3 separate regions of the Homo sapiens genome follow, and all the other regions are linked to region 3. The links are contacts of gene promoters, found by promoter capture Hi-C in blood cells and fetal thymus (Javierre and others, 2016). All regions are on one chromosome and are shown on one strand. The core of a region is centred on a gene start or on the middle of the fragment in contact, and the rest is flanking DNA. Distances in the headings are between cores, read along the strand shown. Region 1 holds the start of NSUN7 (NOP2/Sun RNA methyltransferase family member 7). Region 2 holds the start of RFC1 (replication factor C subunit 1). Region 3 holds the start of N4BP2 (NEDD4 binding protein 2).

What was found. The method cuts DNA at HindIII sites, captures the fragments that hold promoters and counts their contacts. A CHiCAGO score of 5 or more calls a contact.
Region 1: the fragment with the promoter of NSUN7 here is called in contact with the fragment with the promoter of N4BP2 in region 3 in 3 of 17 cell types (total CD4 T cells, naive B cells and total B cells); the score reaches 8.4 in total CD4 T cells.
Region 2: a contact is called between the fragment with the promoter of RFC1 here and the fragment with the promoter of N4BP2 in region 3, in 3 of 17 cell types (fetal thymus, naive CD8 T cells and non-activated CD4 T cells). The highest score is 6.2, in fetal thymus.

Annotation. Positions count from the first base shown.
Region 1 is chr4:40,748,682-40,751,381 of GRCh38, forward strand. It overlaps NSUN7 (NOP2/Sun RNA methyltransferase family member 7), which reads left to right and starts at 1,274. Exons shown (of 12, transcript NM_024677.6): 1 at 1,274-1,619; 2 at 1,922-2,310. The coding sequence starts at 2,013. The HindIII fragment of the contact is 13,723 bases long and covers 1-2,700 here.
Region 2 is chr4:39,365,072-39,367,771 of GRCh38, forward strand. RFC1 (replication factor C subunit 1) reads right to left here and starts at 1,291. Exons shown (of 25, transcript NM_002913.5): 1 at 1,168-1,291. The coding sequence starts at 1,170. RefSeq lists an enhancer at 1,213-1,332. The HindIII fragment of the contact is 1,173 bases long and covers 783-1,955 here.
Region 3 is chr4:40,055,600-40,058,299 of GRCh38, forward strand. N4BP2 (NEDD4 binding protein 2) reads left to right here and starts at 1,251. Exons shown (of 18, transcript NM_018177.6): 1 at 1,251-1,431. It also overlaps the pseudogene LOC344967. RefSeq lists silencers at 463-672, 1,013-1,472, 1,523-1,872 and enhancers at 2,063-2,112, 2,213-2,312. The HindIII fragment of the contact is 12,311 bases long and covers 1-2,700 here.

The sequences.
Region 1 (2,700 bases), core at 24-2,523, 690 kb after region 3:
GTTTAACGTATTCCGGGGATAATGAAAGTGGGTGGATTTCTGAGAGAAGGGGTCAGGGTTAGAGTTCTGTACTGCTAATTTTTTCCCCATTATCCATTCTCTCCTTCTTCTACAGTAATAGTTCCCTTATTTTTAGCTGGACACATTTACCAGCCTCTTGGTTGCTGGGTATATGACTGAGTTCTGACCAATAAAATGTGAGCCAAAGTGATATGTGCACCTTTCAGGTCATTGAAAAATATGGGCTGCCCTCTCTTTCCCCTTCATCCTACTAACCACTGGCTGGAAATGGAAATGGCCTTAGCCTAAAGAAGGAAGGGCAAATCCCTAAGGAGGAAAGGCAGAGGTGGAATTAGGACCAGTTGTCTTTCAACTATACCAGAGTTTTTCAAACTGTGGTCTTTGGGCTGATTGCATCAGAATCGCCAGTTACCTGATAAAAATGCAAATTACTGGGTCTTAGCAACTCAAATCTCTAGGATGGGTTCCAAGGATTTTTTTTTAGCTGGAGGCGGTGGTTCACGCCTGAAATCCCAGCACTTTGGGAGGCCGAGGAGGGAGGACTCCTTGAGCCCAGGAATTCGAGACCACCCTGGGCAACATAATGGGAACCCTGTCTCTGTTATTAAAAAAAATTATTACAGACGGCGCAGTGGCTCACGCATGTAATCCCAGCACGTTGGGAGGCCAAGGCCGGCAGATCACTTGACGTCAGGAGTTCGAGACTAACTTGATCAACACGGTGAAACCCTGTCTCTACTAAAAATACAAAAATTAGCAGGGTGTGGTGGCGGGCGCCTGTAGTCCCAGCTACTCGGGAGGCTGAGGCATGAGAATCACGTGAACCCGGGAGGAGGAGGCTGCAGTGAACCGAGATTGCGCCACTGCACTCCAGCCTGGGCGACAGAGCGAGACCATGTCTCAAAAAAAAAATTATTACTATATTTTAAAAATATTTTAAAGAATGTGTAGTTTTAACAGGGACTTCAGGAACTTGTGAGTTAAAACCACGGAACTACGTCAGACTACCTCAAAAATATCCCCAAATGTTTATAAACAAAGCCAAGGGCACGCACTCAGGCCCGGTGAGGTCCAGGAACTGTGCAAGAGGCCTCTGGCTCGGAGGGGCTGAAACAGGTGTCTCCGCGCGCTGGGGGAAGAGCGACTCTCCCGGCAACAGGTAGCACCCGCCAAATCCCGCGGGAACGGCCCTCGCGCCGCGCCCCCTGCCCCACCTCCGCTCGCGGTTGCCATGAAGACCCGGTCCGGGAGCAGTCGACTGCCGGAGACTCGGGAGGCTGAGCTTTCCTCGGCCTGAGCCAGCCAGACCCCGGGCACCGCGCTCACCCCTCTTCGCCGCCACGTCCGCGAAGGCCTCACGCGCGAGGCCAGGCGAGGCCCCGAGGCGCCCACCACTTCACGACACCGGAGCGAACCGGGCGCCAGAGGCTGCGACCCCCCTGCCCCGAATCCTGCCGGTGGGAGTGGCTGCATTTGAACCAAACGGCCTTCGCGGGCAGCAGCCGTCGCCCCGCAGTCCCGGGGCTCCCAAGGGCCTGTGACCGACGCCGCCCTCCGCGTCTTCGTCCCCGAAGCCCCGGGAACCATCCGCCCTCGGGGTAAGGGAGGAGTCGGGGGAGCCGGTGACTGGGCTGTGGGGACGCGGACGGGGCTCCGGGGGCAGCTCTGCCCCCAGACTGGCTTGAGGGAAGCCGTCGGTCTCCTTGGGGCTCTTCTCCCTCCGCCGCTGCACCCCTCCTCGCTTTTTTTTTTTTTTTTGAGCGTCCCAGGCTCGAAGTCTGGGACACTCAGATGGGACGGGAAATGCTCCCTCTTAGTCTTTAAGGCCACAACGAAGGGGGCCACCCACAGGGGTGCTGCAGAAAGAGTGATTTACTGCAATCACCTTCTCTCTTCACAGAGACCATGCTGCAGATGCGAGGAAAGCCGTTTCCTGGAACATCGGAATTCTAACCCCAGGGTGAAGGACTCACGACAGGCGAGGGGCAGACATGCTGAATTCCACGGGCGAACTGGAGTTTTCGAACGAAGAAGATCCCGAGATCATCTCCCAACTCACTTCCCTGCCTCTGTCCGGTGGGAAAAGCTCAGCTGGTGTGCCCGAAAAAACGGGCTATCCGGACTCCGTTTATGTCATGGCAGCCAACATTTTTCAGGGTATTCGAATCGAAAAGTCGGCACAGAAAGTCTTAATCAAGTATGGGAATGAACCCCTGCGGTCCTTGTCCGAGTCTGAGGATCAGTCCTTTCAGCGTTTGTCTTATGAGCTGGCTTTCAGTGCCCTGAAATGTGAGTTGTGCCAGTCTGGAAGATCAACACTAAAAGAAAATAATAGCGAGAGAATTTGGGGAATGCAGCCCTCCTCCTCCCTTCCCCTCATTCACACCAGGTTTTGGTTTTAGGCATGTGCATATCTTTGGTTAATTGCAAGTGTCAAGGAATTAGGGTTCCCATGAAACTAGCTCTTCCAGCCCAGGATTGCAGATTTCCCCGTGCACTGTGTTTGTCCTTAGATCGGTGTAGTGCGCGGTCATTACATTCAACAAGGAAACAATTTATTCCAATGATCATTTCCCTCTCCCTGTATTTTTTTTTCCCTCGTAGACTTAGGGGTCTCGCTTTATTGTCTGGGCTGGTCTCAAACTCTGGACCTCAAGGAATCCTCCCTCTTCAGCTTCC
Region 2 (2,700 bases), core at 41-2,540, 690 kb before region 3:
CTACTAGTTATATGATACACTGTTTAAATTCCAAAAAGGTGCTTGCACCATCTGTAAAACTGCATCGATGTGGGTTGAAATGAAAAAAAAAAAAAAAAAAAAAAACCATGGAAAACCAACAGTTCACATATTGACCTAAAGAAGATGCTTGGTACAAGGTAGCTACTATCATTACTGTTGCCCTTTTTTGAGAAGAAACACAAAGGCCTGCAACGTTTCCCAGTGTGGCATAAAATTTTCACCGCCCCCCCCCAGAATGTTGTCACTGTGACACGTTGACCAATGATTGAAAAAAATTATATCGGATTGTTAAGTATCTTCTAGCTTAATGAACATTTTAAATGGTCCTTTAAAAATATTTCAAACACAGAGCCATATCCATTGCCATACCATCAGGAATGTCTGCTTTGCTGGCTGCATAATCATTTCACTTTCAATTTGTTTGAACATTTTATCCAGAATTATGCAGTGAGGCTTGGGTTTTTTTCAGATTTTAAACATCAGGTGGTAAGAGGATGACAGCTGTCAAATGTCTTGCATCTGTTTCTATTCGCTGTACTTCTTTTTCCTAGTAAGCCATGTTATCCTTTTGACTCCTATGAACTCATCTAAACAAAATAAAATATCCTCTCCATGCCCTCGGTCTCAACACCGCTCAGGTGATCGTTAATGACGAGCGGAGATGAGACGAGCTGAGCTGTTAATGATAAAAGTTTAAGGCCCTACACAACATATTCCCTAAGAAAGAAAAGTTTGTTACATTCTTCTCCCTCGTGACCCAAAGCTTGAAATCCACGCTTTAGGCAGTACTCAAACTGAGGTTCGGGCAACGCCGAACAAGAAAATAACTTTACCAATGCGTCCCAAAACCACCATCCTTCCTCTCTTCCTTTCTCCCTTCCCCCAAGAGTGGGGGGCGGGGGGAAAGTGCAAGTACACGTAGCAACAAAATCCCTGCGCGCTGGCTGCCGCCCAGAGCCAGAGCCCGCGATGCAATGAAAGTTTTGCGTCCAGTGCCCGGTGTGCGGCCCCTTCTCTGCCTTTGCTAGCCTCCGGAACCACCCACCGCCATCCTCCCCCACCCTGCATACCAGGAGTGCCCGGTCCACACCAGGCCTGCAAAGCCCCCCCAGACCCCGAGCCGCACGGCCTCCCCCAGCGGCTCACCATCGCAGCCCCAGGATGAAGGCGCTGGCTGGCTGGCGGGTGGGCCGGTTGAGGAATCTGTTATCGAGGCTCAGGATCCATTCGCGCCAACAACTTCTCCCGCGAAGTGCAAGAAGGCGAAGACAGTGGCGCGCGGTGATGACGTCAGGAGGCGCGAGCTTTGCTTCCGTCCCGCCCAGAGGCGGGAGGTGCGACGCCTGCCCAGGTGCTGCCCCGAGGGCAGGCGGGCCGCTGACATCGAGAGGAACCACGGTGCTTTGGTGTGAGCTCGGTTTTTGGCGGGGGCGCTAAAGTAGGGGGATCCGATATTGGTTTCCTTGGCAGGCGGGGTACCCAAGTACCTCCCGGTTACACGTCTGGACAATGCACTTCCCTATAGTAACTTTGAAAAGTTTTTACTACCAACTTTAGTAAGATAAATGTTTTAGCTGTGCGTTTTACATATTATGTATAAATATCTATTCTGTAATAAGGTTTCATCAAGAGGCCGGACGCGGTGGCTCACCCCTCTAATCCCAGCACTTTGGGAGGCCGAGGCGGGTGGGTCACCTGAGGTCAGGAGTTCGAGACCACCTGACCAATGTGGTGAAACCCCGTCTCTACTAAAAATACAAAAATTAGCCAGGGGGTGGTGACGTGTGCCTGTAGTCCCAGCTACTCGGGAGACTGAGACAGGAGAATTGCTTGAACCCAGGAGGCAGTGGTGCAGTGAGCCGAGATCGAGCTACTGCCCTTTAGCCTGGGCGACAGAGCGAAACTCCGCCTCAAAAAAAAGAAAAGATACCGAAAGCTTTGGGGTAAACCAGTTGTATATGAATAGATTAGCAATTGAATCACGGAATACAATGAAACATTTGCGTACGATTTCAAGAGAAAGATTAGACCATAAAGAGTTCAATGGAGAAAGCAGTATCTCCAGCTTTGGCTCTAGCTACACTTTTGAAATTCTCACCCATCCACCCCCTGTTGGGTCTTGCGCTTTATGACACCAACATTTCTATGGCGAAAGATAGAACAGCCTGGAATACAACAGAGGCTGAGCATTGACAGCTTGTATTTATTAAACGCCTATTGTTGTACGTGCAGCTCTGGACTAGCCTAGCTCATTTTATCCCCATGATGACACTGACTACTCTTATCCCGAATTTACAGACAGACTGTTACTTATTAACAGGGCCTCACTGCACTGTTCCCTCTGAAGCCAGGATGCTAGGTCTCCAGCCCCACCACCTGCTATTTATGTGACCAAGGGCAAGTTACTGTGCCTCGGTTTTGTCTTAGCAGACATATCACACAAATTTTTGCCCATAATTTTAGAGGACCTACACCAATTTATAATGTTCATTGTGTTATAAATCAATAAATGAGTAAATAAGACATAAAAAGTTGTACGTGTCTTTTATATTACATTCCTCTTAACTTTTGCTTTTTTTTTTTTTTGGCATTTGAAGCCTTCCTTGAGTTTAAATGAGACTTAAGTCAGGAGACTGTAACTTCTTTGTGAGATTGTTTTCTTTAGGAATATTTATTTAC
Region 3 (2,700 bases), core at 1-2,500:
CACTTTGTCATGAGGTTATTTCGCTTCTCTATTCTGGGAAAAACCACTGCAAGTGGAATGAAAAGTAACCGCAAAGGGAGGGGACGGAGGAAGTAAAAAACAGGCAAAACCACCACCACTACCATCACCACCACCACCACCAACCAGAAAGCAAAGGTGAAAAATTTGCGTACCCTGAAAACACTAAACATTTCACATCAGAACCCAGAACAAATAAACCAGGGAAAGCAGAGTTGAGAGAAAAAAAATGGTGCAGGCTTGGGGACGGACTCATACTACAGCGGTCGCAAGAGGGAAGAGCACGTCTTTGCTTTTTCTTGGCATCCGAAAACTCAAGCTCGAACTGGGGGCAAAGGCCAGCGGCTGCGGTTCCACCGGCTAAGGCGCACACATTCCCCGAGCTCAGACCGCACGCTGGCAGGGCCGATGGGGCTGGGCAGCCTCCCTCCACCCCGTGGCAGTCGCCTACCCCTTTGTCTCCCCGTGGGGCTCCGAGGCCGCGCGCCCGGAAGCCCCCCGCGGGAGGGCCGCGCGCGAGAAGGCGGGTTCCCGTGCCCGCCGCAGCGGCCACGGCCCTAGTCAGGCAATGCCGAGGCCGGTCGCTCGCCTCGCCGTCCCTCCCAACTTGCAGCCTGGACCCCGCGCGCGTCAGGGCTCGTCCCAGCTCTGCTTTCCTTTCTCCCCTCACCTCGCGAGGCCGACCTTGTGTTTGTTTTGTTTTTTGGGGCTCGGGAGAGTGCCGAGGGCTAGAAACAGCTGTGGTTTACCGCGCCGCTTATTTTGGCAAAAATTCCGGGCCTGTTGCAATGTTCCCCAGCGCCAAACAGCTCCCGCCTTCCCCCCAAGCAGAACCCGACACTCGAAGAAGGGCTTGCTCCTCCAGGGACCCCCTGATAAGAAAAGTGGGGACCACGGCCCGCTCTCGGGCGAGACTTGGGGGGTGGGCGACCGGAAGCAGCCGAACCGGCCGGGCAGGGCTTGCTCTCCAACGGGAGAGCGGGAGCGGGAGAGGTGGGAGCGCCCGCGGGCTCAAGTCCCCCGGGCCGCCGCGCCGAGGCGGAGCTCGGGGACGAAGCAGAGGTCGTGGCGGACAGCCGGCGGGCTTGGGGGGGGGCGGTGGGCGGCGATCCACCTGGGCGACGTGGCAGCCATTGCCGGCGCCTCGAGACCCCTCCCCACCCGGCCGCCCACCCGCCCTCTCGCGGCGGGCTTCTGCGCGGCTGCTCTTCCCCGGCCGGACGGAGAGCGGCAGTGTCTCCCCGCCGGGCGCGCTCGCCGTGTCTCCCCCGCGGCCGCAGCTGCTTGCTAGCCTTGCGCGGCGCGGGAGAGCGCAGTGGCGCCGGCGGGAAAGGGCTGCGGACCTGCGGCGCCGCGTTGTGCGTTCGACGACGCGGCACCGGCTTCGACGCCCTCTGCCCGCTCCAGAAGCAGGTAAAGGCGGCGGGTGGGAGGCAGGGAGGCGGGTCCAAGGTGAGGGCCCTGGAGGTTAGGGGTCCCGGGGCTCCGAGCCGAAGCGGAGGGCCTGAAGCAGCGGCGGGCGGCGCGGCGAATGAACCCCCAAGCCCTGAATGTGGGGCCCGGCGCGGGCCGCCTCCGATCTGACCCGCGGGCCCGGCTGCCCGGACGGAAGGGAAGTGAGGCGTCGGCGAGAGGCGGGCCCTGGCGCTCAGCCCGAGGCCGGGCGAAGGCGGGGGCCGCGGCCGCTTCCTTGGCCTCCGAGTGCCTGGCGGGCCTCCAGGCCCCAGACACACCCCTCTCGACCCCCCGAGGTTTCCTCCCAGATCTGTTCCCGCCGGGACCTGACCTTGCGCCCCTCCAGGCGCCTTAGGTGTTTGCCAGGCGGAGCCTTCTGGGAACTTCAGGCCACCTTCCTGAGCACATAGTCCTAGCAGAGCCGTTTATTTACTCAGTTCAAGTCCAGACACACAGCCACTCACACGTTCGGATTTTGGAGACTGCGGGGAGACTTTCCCCTCCCCGGCATTTGTGTGTCTTTGGCCCTCGTCCCGCCTCCCCTGCCCCCATCTGCAACTTTGTCCCTCAATGGGACCCTTCTAGAGCCCCTCTCTCATCGGGACTCTCTCTAAGCCGTCCGTTTGGAAATTCATCCTCAATAGAGTGAGTCATCTTAGCGGGGGCACAGTTTATCTCTCATGCGCTTTTGGTTAAAATAGTTTTTTTTTTCCCTCCGAAAGAGAGCTAGAGTAATAGAATGTAGATGACAGGTCAGTGTCAGTGTTGGCTTCAAAGGCTCTTCCTTTCGGCGGCAGTCTTTGTAACTAGGATCTGATATTTGTGGCACGGACAGGTTTGTACACATTCTCGCCATGCAGTGGTTGTAATGTCTCCATGGCACAGTTCTGGCTTGAAGGCAGGATTGGCTGCTTTTTCTACTCGACATCTTTGAGCCAATCAGCAAGGGCTGCTTGCCTGGAGACTGGTTAACTCAGTAAAGGTGGCCATTGGTTGAGCTCCTAGAAGAAAATCCTGGAGATGAACCTAGCCTCTCAGAAAACAATGACTGATTTGCAGCTGTATTAAAAAAATGTTTTCTTTTAATCCCAACATCAGCCTTTTCACTCCGTTTTTATTACTTCCAGTGTTTTTCTTTCAAACACCAGCTGTCTTTTGTAACTCGTTTTAACTCTCATCCTTTAATTTTAACTAAAAGACGCGCTTTAGGAAATGTAAACATCGTGT